3 separate regions of the Homo sapiens genome follow, and regions 1 and 2 are each linked to region 3. Evidence: promoter capture Hi-C in human tissues and cell types (Jung and others, 2019). All regions are on one chromosome and are shown on one strand. Each heading gives the region's core, a stretch centred on a gene start or on the middle of the fragment in contact. The rest is flanking DNA. Distances are from core to core; before and after follow the strand shown.

The links. The method cuts DNA at HindIII sites, captures the fragments that hold promoters and counts their contacts. A contact is called where the count stands out against the background at its distance.
Region 1: the fragment with the promoter of TEKT1 here is called in contact with the fragment with the promoter of ASGR2 in region 3 in 1 of the 25 tissues and cell types used here (stomach).
Region 2: a contact is called between a fragment that was not itself captured here and the fragment with the promoter of ASGR2 in region 3, in 2 of the 25 tissues and cell types used here (adrenal gland and spleen).

What each region holds. Positions count from the first base shown.
Region 1 is chr17:6,829,999-6,833,476 of GRCh38, reverse strand. TEKT1 (tektin 1) reads left to right here and starts at 1,748. Exons shown (of 8, transcript NM_053285.2): 1 at 1,748-1,828; 2 at 3,084-3,290. The coding sequence starts at 3,101. RefSeq lists a silencer at 1,736-1,785. The HindIII fragment of the contact is 13,856 bases long and covers 1-3,478 here.
Region 2 is chr17:6,848,199-6,852,009 of GRCh38, reverse strand. No RefSeq gene overlaps it. Among named protein-coding and RNA genes, the nearest start is that of TEKT1, 18 kb to the right of the region's middle. The HindIII fragment of the contact is 4,954 bases long and covers 1-3,811 here.
Region 3 is chr17:7,113,536-7,116,957 of GRCh38, reverse strand. ASGR2 (asialoglycoprotein receptor 2) reads left to right here and starts at 2,136. Exons shown (of 9, transcript NM_001201352.2): 1 at 2,136-2,343; 2 at 2,648-2,841. The coding sequence starts at 2,718. RefSeq lists an enhancer at 1,198-1,984. The HindIII fragment of the contact is 7,513 bases long and covers 1-3,422 here.

The sequences.
Region 1 (3,478 bases), core at 499-2,998, 280 kb after region 3:
TATGAATCATAGTTTGTATAACTCTTCTTAAAGATATTGTTCAAAACTTCTTTTGACTTTTAGTTGTAATTTGGACTCATTGCTTTTTAGTTCGGTAGCTATTACACCGAGCTTTCTTTTCATCACACAGCTGGGTTGGTTCCACTATGTCTTATGTCCAGTATCTTCTTCTTTCTGGATTTTTCACTTTTGCTCTATTATTTTTTTCCATAAAGAATGTACGCTCACCGTTTTGAGTACTGGCATGTCCAAAGAAATCTTTTATTTTGCTCTCATACATGAAATGCTTTGACTGGTTGTAGAATCCCAGATTTGAAATAATTTTCTATAGAATTTGAAGGCATTATCCTAGCATCATTTCTAGCAACCATCATTTCTAGCCACCTGTGTTAGAGACGAAACACTTGATACCTATTCTTTCTTTTTCTTCTTATTCTTTGAATTAAGAAATTCCACCAGAATAGGTATAAAGTTGGCCCTTCCTATCCGTGGATTCTACATCCTTGGATGCGATGACACACAAATAAAAAATATTCAGGAAAAAAATTCCACAAAGCTCCAAAAAGCAAAACTTGAATTTGTTGCACCCTGAGTGCTATGTTGAATCCATGCGAATGAAGCGATGAGTAGGCATGGTTAGACATTGTATTAGGTATTGTATTAGGCATTGTATTAGGTATTATATTAGGTATTAGGTGTTGTATTATGTATTGTATTATGTATTGCATTAGGCACTGTATTAGGCACTATATTAGGTATTGTATTAGGCATTGTATTAGGTATTGTAGCAATCTAGAGATGACGTAAAGTATGCCTATCTAGGGATGTGCGTAGGTTATATACAAATGCTACACCACTTTATATGAGACTTGAGAATCTGCAGATTTCAGTATCTGAGGGGGATCCTGGAGCTAATCACTCTATGGATTATATGCATAATCCACAGGGAGGACTATATGTAAGGAATGGGGGTGTGTGTTAATTTCAGGTGGGTCGTTAATCTAAAGACTTGAGTCTTTGGCTCAAGTTATCTCTCTCTCACTTTCACAATTGTTTTGCCATTCTCTCTCTTTTTTTCTTTCCTTCTGGAAGTCCTACTTGACAAATATTAAATCTTCTGGAGCTATCCCCTCAGATTTAATTTTTCTCCCATATTTTCCATCTCCTAGTGGATGCAGAGTGACTTCTGGAGTGTTTGCCTGAAGGCGTTCTACTCACACACCTGCCCTCACAGAGTGCCCCATCGGGCGCCCCACGCAGAAATAAGCCAGTTGTGGTAACAGACCTATACAAACTCTGGAGGAAACTCATTGTAGCTTACAGAAACAATCAACTTGGCTTCCTGATTTTTAACCCTCAATTTCGCCTGCGACTGCGAGGTCCTGGAGGCATCGCCCAGCCCAACCCCACTGTACAGCCGGGAAGTCTGAGAGCCGGGGTACAGCGCGACCCGAGATGATCCCGCCCGCGGGAGGGCTCGGACTAGACGCAGGTCTCCTGACTCCCAGCTCGGGGCTTTGGCCGCTGTCTTCTGCTTGGTGCCCCGCGTCTTCGCGGTAGGTTGAGGTGGCCGGAGCATCTGGCCCTACCCTTCCCACACGCCACACTCCTGGGTCTCTGGCTCTGGGGTCCGCAGAATTTGCGCCTGCGCTAAGCCTTTGGCCAGGCTGCTCAGTGGCGGAACCAGCCCTCTTTGCCCTGGCAACGCGTCACTTGTTGTCATGGAGACCGCGTTGTTTACCTCTCTGTTCTGCAAGAGCTGGAAGCTCCAGTTGGGGTAAGGAGGCTCCCATCCCGAGCTTGCGTAGTGGTTCTGTGTGGCGCTGAGGTAAGTAAACCATGACCCCACCCCACCGACCCCTACCCGCAACCCTCCCCGCCTAACCAAATCCTTATGACGTTGGGATGAGCCCTAATTTAGGTCCCCACCTCTCTGGGGGCTATTCAGACTTATCCAGGAGCCTTGGGTTAAATGCTGGGCTCCACACTCAGATAAATTCGGTAGAAGCCATAAAAGGGACTGGGCTAGGAAGAAACGGAGAAACTCCATGTTGTCTGAGGGGGCTGGGTGGGCTGAGGTTCTCAGCCTAGTCAAGATCTGACTCTAGTTTCATCCTTATATATGTGAAGGCTTCAGAGATCCAGAGGCCCCTAAGAGCAGGGACTCAGACCTTAGGGTAGAGATGGGAGTGGGGGCAGATTTCAGCCCTGTCTGAGGAAGGCAGTTCTCATGGTCCATCAGAGTTGTATGAAGATGAAATGGGTAATTTTAGCGTTTCCACTGCCGACAGCCTCTGCCAGCTGGCTTCCCCTGTGTTGTTCCCCTTCCTGTTCTCTCCTTTTCTTTGTCCTGGAAGTTTTCAGATTCTTTTATGTGTTGAACAAGTTCAATACCCAGTTGTCAGTTTACACATGTTACATTTCCTCCTCCTCCTCCTCCTCCTCCTCCTTCTTCTTCCTCTTCTTTTTCTTCTTCTTTTTTTAAGAAAACATCTCTGGGCTCATCTGTTTGGCAGAACATTACTCCATGACCCAACAATTCTAATGAGTTATAAAAATGCATACACGTGTTCACCAAAAGACATGTATGAGACTATTAATAGCATTCTCATTATGGCCCTGGAGTGTAAACAACCCAAATATCCATAAACAGTAGAAAAGACAGCTAGATTTTATTCATATAACGGCACCTACACAGCAACGAGAACGAACAAACTGCAATCATATAGACAATATGGATGAATTTTACAAACATAATGTTGAGCTAAAGAAGTCAGAGACAGAATAATACATACTGTATTATTCCATTTATGTTAAATTCAAAAACAGCAAAACGAATTTGTAGTGTTAAAAGTCAGGATACTGGTTACCCTGAGGGGCTTGAGGTGGAGTAACTGGGAGGAGGTTAGAGATGCTGGTAATGCTTGTTTCTTGGTTTGGGTGCCGGCTACACAGATAGATTTATTTTGTGTACAGATTATGATTTATGCAATTTTCCGTATATATGTCATCCTTGAATAAAAATTATCATAAAAAAGGACAAATTGCTTTCATTTAATCTAAAAGAGTCTGCTTTTGATCAGGAATTTGGAAACCTCAAATGGCTAAACTATTACAACCTCCACCCAAGTTCCTGCCCTCAGAGTGGCACATTGCTAACAAGAACCAGTACCACAGAGCAGACGCTCAAAGGTCCCGATCAGAACGCCTGGTCGCAGAAAGCCAGAGGCTTGTGGATGAAATTGAAAAGACCACAAGAAAATCTCAAAGCGATGTGAACAAGAAACTAGGTAAGACAACATGCTTGGCATATTCGTGAACATGCTAGGATGAGGCTGTTGAGTTTAGCTATAGTGTCATGTTCAGATGTGGCAACATATTATTTTTGAATATTAGAGAAAATCATGTGTATTCTCCAGGTTCTATGTTTAAGTTCACTGCCCTAAGATAGACACAAGGTAACCCAGCCTGATTTTCA
Region 2 (3,811 bases), core at 277-2,776, 260 kb after region 3:
CAATCTTTATTTCAGGAATAGTGTTTCTAAGTTTTCTGTGGATATATAGTGCCATTTGTTCTATCTTTCCTGGAGTATACTTTGCAGATGACTCTCAAATCTGTGTGTCTAGCATGGACCTTTCCCTCAGCCCTGCACATTCACACACAACATCTTTTTCTTGAGGTACCTCCAGCTAGTGAAATGCAAATTAAAAAAAAAAAATTAGTCACTGCTCTCCCTCTGACCCCTCATTATTACTGTCACCATATCATTTTCCTCATCTACACTGGTGTTTTGGGTAATATTATTCCCCTAGACATTCATCCTACAAATTTTCAGTCAATTCTGATTCTTCTAACTCTTCTTCATCCTTCCCTCACCACCAAGCCACTGATTCAGCGTTTATTGAATTCCCCACAGCTGTCTTTTCCTTGCCCTTCCCACTCACCTTTCCCTCATTATCATCTCCTATTTGGACTGCTGATGTACTGTCAGAATTGGCCTTCTCACTCCACTACTTTTCTTCAATCTTCAAACTTCTGCCAAGTTAATCTTTCAGATGACCAGCTCTGATCATCATCCTCCCATATCAGAAATCAACATTGGCTCCCTGCCATCACTGCAACCTAAAAATAAACAACAAACAAACAAACACCTTTCCAAATGCAGTGCATAGATTAATCTTCCTATACCTCCTTTTTAATGACAAAAAGTAATACATTTCTGGGAAGACAGTTTCAGTGGAGGCAGCATAGAATTTGGATCTTCCTGGATATCCACATAAAAACAGACAGAACTAGATAGCAAAATCAAATACTCATGAATCACATTTACAAAAAGCTAGACAAGTAATCCCTGCAAACTCCAAAACAGGACAAACCACCAACAGCCATAAGACCTATGTGTTATCCACATCTCACCTGTGCAAGAGAACTTGGAAGAAAACAACAGGACATATGACAAACCTGAAAATGGTAAAATTGTAGTAGGCCAATTTGGGAACAACAGCTGGAACTAGGAGGGAACATGCCCATTTGTTTTAGGCCATTCTCGCACTGCTGTAAAGAAATACCTGAGACTGGCTCATTTACAAGAAAAGAGGTTTAATTGGCTCATGGTTCTACCGGCTGTACAGGAAACATAGTGGCTTCTGCCTCTGGGAAGGCCTCAGGAAGCTTCCAATCATGGAAAAAGGCAAAGGGGGAGCAGGCACATCATATCCTGAAGGCAGGAGCAAGGAAGAGGGGGAGAAGGTGCCTGATATGGTTCGGATCTGTGTCCCCACCTAAATCTTGTGTCAAGTTGTAATTTTCAAATGTCAGAAATGGGACCTGGTTGGAGGTGATTGGCTCATGCGGGTGGATCCTTCGTGAATGGTTTAGCACTATCCGTTGGTACTGTTCTTATGATAGAGTTCTCATGAGATCTGGTTGCTTTAAAGTGTGTGGCACCTCTCCCCTCTCTCTCTCTTCCTCTGGCTCCAGCCATGTGGCTCTCCCTCCACCTTCCATCATGATTTTGTTTCCTGAGGCCTCCCAGAAGCCAAGTAGATGCCAGCATCATACTTCCTGTTCAGCCTGTGGAACCATGAGCCAATTAAATATTTTTTCTTTATAAATTACCCAGTCTCAGGTATTTCTTTATAGCAATGCAAGAACAGACTAAAACAGTGTCGCATACTTTTAAACGACCAGATGTCAGGAGAAGTCACCCACTAGCGCGAGAACAGCACCAAGGAGATGGTGATAAACCATTCATGAGAAATCTCCTCGACAATCCAGTCACCTCCCACCAGGCCCTACCTCCAACAATAGGGATTATAGTTTGATATGATATTTAGAGGGGACACAGATCCAAAGCCTATCACCACTGTAATAGCAAGTAGGTGCCAGGCACAGTTGATAAGATCTAAGGACCTACGGGAACTCCTGAAACTGGTCAGCCAAGGCTGTCTTCCAGGATGGAGCGGAACACTTCAGAGAAACCCTTGGAAAAACTCAACTGAAATAAATGAAAGAAAAGATCCAGAAAAGCACAGGGTGGGGAAACAAAGCCAGGAAATCTCCAAAAGCAGGCCATCATGTTTTTGAACATTACAAGAACAAAAATGGATGGGGATCCAAGAAGTTAGATGTGTTATCTGAACAAGCTTCTTTTTATTAACATGGAAAACAAAATTCACATAAAAATGGCAGTAGAAAAGTAGTGAAGTCAAATCCCATACAAAGTTACTATAAGAAAAGAGACAATAAAGGGCAAAATAATATCATTACACAAAACAAAAGCACAACGGAAAGATGAACAAAAACCAAAGCAAAGGATCAGAAAGAATACTAAAAGCTGTAATTCAAGAAAATGAGGGGGAACTTGGCAAGATAGCCAAATAGGAACAGCTCCGGTCTGCGGCTCCCAGCGAGACCTATGAGGAAGATGGGTGATTTTTGCATTTCCAACTGAGGTACCCAGTTCATCTCATTGGGACTGGTTAGACAGTGGGTGCAGCTCACGAAGGGTGAGCAGAAGCAGGGTGGGGCGTCGTCTCACCTGGGAAGTGCAAGGGGTCAGGAACTCCCTCCCGTAGCCAAGGGAAGCCATGAGGGACTGTGCCATGAAGGACTGTACTATTCAGCCCAGATACTATGCTTTTCCCACGGTTTTTGCAACCAGCAGACCAGGAGATTCTCTCAGGTGCCTACACCACAAGGGCCCTGGGTTTCAAGCATAAAAGTGGGTGGCCATTTGGGCAGACACTGAGCTAGCTGCAGGAGTTTTTTGTTGTTGTTGTTGTACCCCAGTGGCACCTGGAACCCCAGTGAGACAGAACCTTTCACTCCCCTGGAAAGGGGGCTGAAGCAAGGGAGCCAAGGTGGTCTTGCTCAGCGAGTCCCACCCCCCTGGAGACCAGCAAGCTAAGATCCACTGGCTTGAAACTCTTGCTGCCAGCACAGCAGTCTGAAGTCAACCTGAGATGCTCGAGCTTGGTATGGGGAGGGGCATCTGCCATTACTGAGGCTTGAGTAGGCGGTTTTCCCCTCACAGTGTAAACAAAGCCACCAGGAAGTTTGGACTGGGCAGAGCCCGCCACAGTGCAACAAAGCCGCTGTAGCCAGACTGCCTCTCTAGTTTCCTCCTCTCTGGGCAGGGCATCACTGAAAGAAAGGCAGCAGCTCCAGTCAGGGGCTTATAGATAAAACTCCCATCTCCCTGGGACAGAGCACCTTGGGGAAGGGGCAGCTGTGGGCACAGCTTTAGCAGACTTAAATGTTCCTGCCTGCCGGCTCTGAAGAGACCAGTGAATCTCCCAGCACAGCACTAGAGCTCTGCTAAGGGACAGACTGCCTCTTCAAGTGGGTCCCTGACCCCCATGCCTCCTGACTGGGAGACATCTCCCAGCAGGGGTTGACAGACACCTCATACAGGGGAGCTCCGGCTGGCATCTGGCAGGTTTCCCTCTGGGATTAAGCTTCCAGAGGAAGGAGCAGGCAGCAATCTTTGCTGTTCTGCAGCCTCTGCTGGTGATACCCAGGCAAACAGGGTCTGGAGTGGACCTCCAGCAAACTCCAGCAGACCTGTAGAAGAGGGCCCTGACTGTCAGAAGGAAAACAAACAAACAGAAAGGAATAGTATAAACATCAACAAAAAGGACGTCCACACCAAAACCCCATCCAAAAGTCACCAACATCAAAGACCAAAGGTAGATCAATCCATGAAGATGGGGAGAAGCCAGTGCAAAAAGGCTAAAAATTGCAAAGGCCAGAACGCCTCTTCTCCTCCAAAGGATCACAACTCCTTGCCAGCAAGGGAACAAAACTGGATGGAGAATGAGTTT
Region 3 (3,422 bases), core at 887-3,386:
GAGGTTGCAGTGAGCTGAGATCGCGCCATTGCATTCCAGCCTGGGTGACAAGAGTGAAACTCTGTCTCAAAAAAAAAAAAAAAAAAAATCAATCAAAGAAAATAGGATTCCATAACCCAAAACAGAAAACCTCCAACAATATGGAAACTTCAGAAATAGTCCAAGTACATGTTAACTTCTAAGTTAAAATGATTTTCAAATAGGGAGAAAGAGAAGGACGCAGATGAGTCTGGCTTTCTCTGTCCCTTCTCTCCCTGTAGTGCCGTGAGTGGGGGTGTAAGTGACAAGCCCTGAAACGTGGAATTGGTTCAGTCAAAGGGGTGGCCAATGAGGATGGCCCCATCCCTGGTTGGCAGTTGGCAAAGCTTGACATGCAGTAGACAATCCATCTGTGAAGCTCTTACCTGTATCTCAGGACTAAATCCACATGCCCCTTAAGATGGGGGCTTCACAGCAGTGTTGTTCAGACTTTGAGTTGTGACCCATTAATGGACTGGGAAACTCAACAGAAGGCACGTAGTAAGGTGAGCATTGTCCCATCAAACTTTAGTGTCAACCGTGTATTTCCAAACGCATTATTCTATTCACTCACTCACTCAGTAGATACTTGTTGAGCAGCTACTGTGTGGCAGGCACTGGGGATCCAGGAGAAAGTAACACATACAAATGCACCTGTGTGTGCGGGTGCTTGTGTGTATGTTCTGGATCACAGCATGAAATTCGTCTCTCGCTGTGGGCTGCAGTCAGAGAGCCCAGCGGCTGCTGCTGCCTGGTGGCTGGGTGGGAATGTCAGGGTACTGGGGGGGTGGCTACTTCCCATGTGGGTCAGCAAGTTACAAGAACAGAAAAGGCCTCTGTTTGAATTCCTTTTCGGCACCCGGGGAAACGAGCAGCTTTATAAGAAACCCTGCCCGTAGCCATCCGCCCAAGTTTGGTGAGGGTCAGAAAATCATGCACAAAAACTGTGTTTTCTTTCCCGAGCTATTGTTAGCGCAAGTGTAGACAGTCAGCCACGTTCCTTGCTTCATGGAAGCCAGTCTTCCTCGTAGGACCATGAAGACCTTTTCTTTTCTTTTTCTTTCTTTCTTTTTTTTTTCTTTGAGATGGAGTTTCTCTCTTGTTGCCCAGGCTGGAGTGCAATGGCGCAATCTTGGCTAATGCAACCTCCGCCTCCCAGGTTCAATCGATTCTCCTGCCTCAGCGTCCTGAGTAGCTGGGATTACAGGCCCCTGCCACCACGCCCGGCTAATTTTTGTATTTTAGTAGAGACAGAGTTTCACCATGTTGGCCAGGCTGGTCTCGAACTCCTGACCTCAGGTGATCCACCCACGTCGGCTTCCCAAAATGCTGGGATTACAGGCGTGAGCCACCGTGCCCGGCCAGACCTTTTGTTATGATGTTATTTTCCCCTCTTTACTCCATTTTGCTTTGCCAGTTTCTCTACTCACCTGGGCCACCACCTAGAGCAAGTTGCCTCATCTCTCCGAGGCTCCGCTTCCGAACCCTGTGAAATGGGAGTAACAGAAGTCCTGCCTCGTGGGGGTGTTGTGCTGTGATAAATGAAGAAACACCTTGGAGAATTTAGGGCAGTGGCTGGGCCTGAGGACAGTGTTTGTGTTGCCTGGGCTGGGGCAGGGTCTGGGCCGGACGGGGCTCTCTGAGGTTGGATTCCTCCTGCGAGGAGAGCTGTTTTTCTGCAAAGCCCCTTCCTCCTCCTGCTGAAGCTTCTGGATTTGAGAGGCTTTACTCTCCAGGAGAGTGAAGCGAGTTGGGCCAGAGCTGAGAGTCTGGTGGCCGAGCCCACAGGAAGCTGGGGTCTGTGGTTCAGATGCCGGATTGGGCAAGAGTAGAGAACTGGTCGCTGTGATCCTGGTCAGGGATATTTGGAGACACCCACAGTTCTGGTAAATTCGGAGGCAGGAAGTGAGAGGGGGAGGGAGAGAGGGAAACGGCAAACTGCACCCCAGCCCCTCCTGGCCTGGCACCCCTTCCAAATGGTGCAATGAGTGGGGTGAGTGGCGTGTGGAGTTGAGCGCAGCCCAGGGGACCCCCCTCTCTGGGAATAAGAACAGAGATAGCCCCGTCCCCTGCCCCCACCCCACAAATGAGTTACAGCTCTGTTTCCTCTTCTGTTTACTGTCCAAAGTCCCAGGCCAGGAGGTGCCAGGTTAGAGCTTGGACACTCAGACCCTCCAGTGCAGGCCTTGCCCGGACCAGCCCCTCCTCCACTCTCCTCTCCCCTGTGAGCTCCACCTGCCCCAGTTCTCCTGGCTTTAACCCCTCCTTGGCCAAGGCCAGGGTTGCCTGCGGGAGCCAGGTGTCCGCTCTCCACACCTTTCACAGGTAACTGAGGCTGGGGAGGCAACTGGGACGAGGATGCTTGGGAACAAGGAGGCCTTGGTTCAGGGATGGGGAGGACCCCATGGGAAGCTGTGGGTGGTCGGGTCCATGAGCGTGGGGAGGGGTCTCCTGGCCAGGTCAAGGCCCAAGCGGTCTCCTGAGAAGGGAAAGGACCCAGCGGGATTTCAAACCTCATCCCAAACGCCCTGCCAACCTCAGATCCTACCCAGGCCACCACCCCGAACCCCTCCGACCCTGCGTTCCATCCCACCATCAACCTCCACGTGAATCTGCACCTCTGCCCCAGCCCCAGCCCTCAGAGCAACCTCAGCCCAGCCCAGCCCAGCTCCAGCTCCAGCTCCAGCCCGGGCCCCATCATGGCCAAGGACTTTCAAGATATCCAGCAGCTGAGCTCGGAGGAAAATGACCATCCTTTCCATCAAGGTGAGGGGCCAGGCACTCGCAGGCTGAATCCCAGGAGAGGAAATCCATTTTTGAAAGGCAAGTGTGCAGTTTCTGCGGCTTTGCTCCCCCTCTGTCTCAGCTCATGATTGCTCTGTCCCTTTGAGGTCTCTGCCGCACCCACTCTGTGAACAGGGACTGAGGAGGGCCCGACACCCCCGCTTGTTCCCTCACCTCACCTTCCTGTCTACCCCAGGACCCCAGGAAAGGCATGTGCCAGAGGTGTGGGGAGATCTGGAAGATAACTGCCTGCCCTTCTCCTCCCAACCCAAGAACACATGTGCCTCGTATGTGCGTGTGCACGTATGTGCATATGAGGAATGCAGATTCAGCTGGGACTCTGTGTGTGTGTGTGAGTGAATGTTGTGTGTGTGTATATGTGCGCGAGAGCGTGCATATGTTGTGTGTGTGTATGTCGTGTATGTGAGAGGGTATGTTGTGTGTGAGAGTGTGTTGTGTGTGTATGTTGTGTGAGTATATGTTGTGTGTATCTTGTGTGTGAGTGTATGTTGTGTGTTGTGTGTGTATCTTGTGCATGTGTGTATGTTGTGCGAGTGTATGTTGTGTATGTGAGTGTGTGTATGTTGTGTGTATGTTGTGTGTATGTATGTTGTGTATGA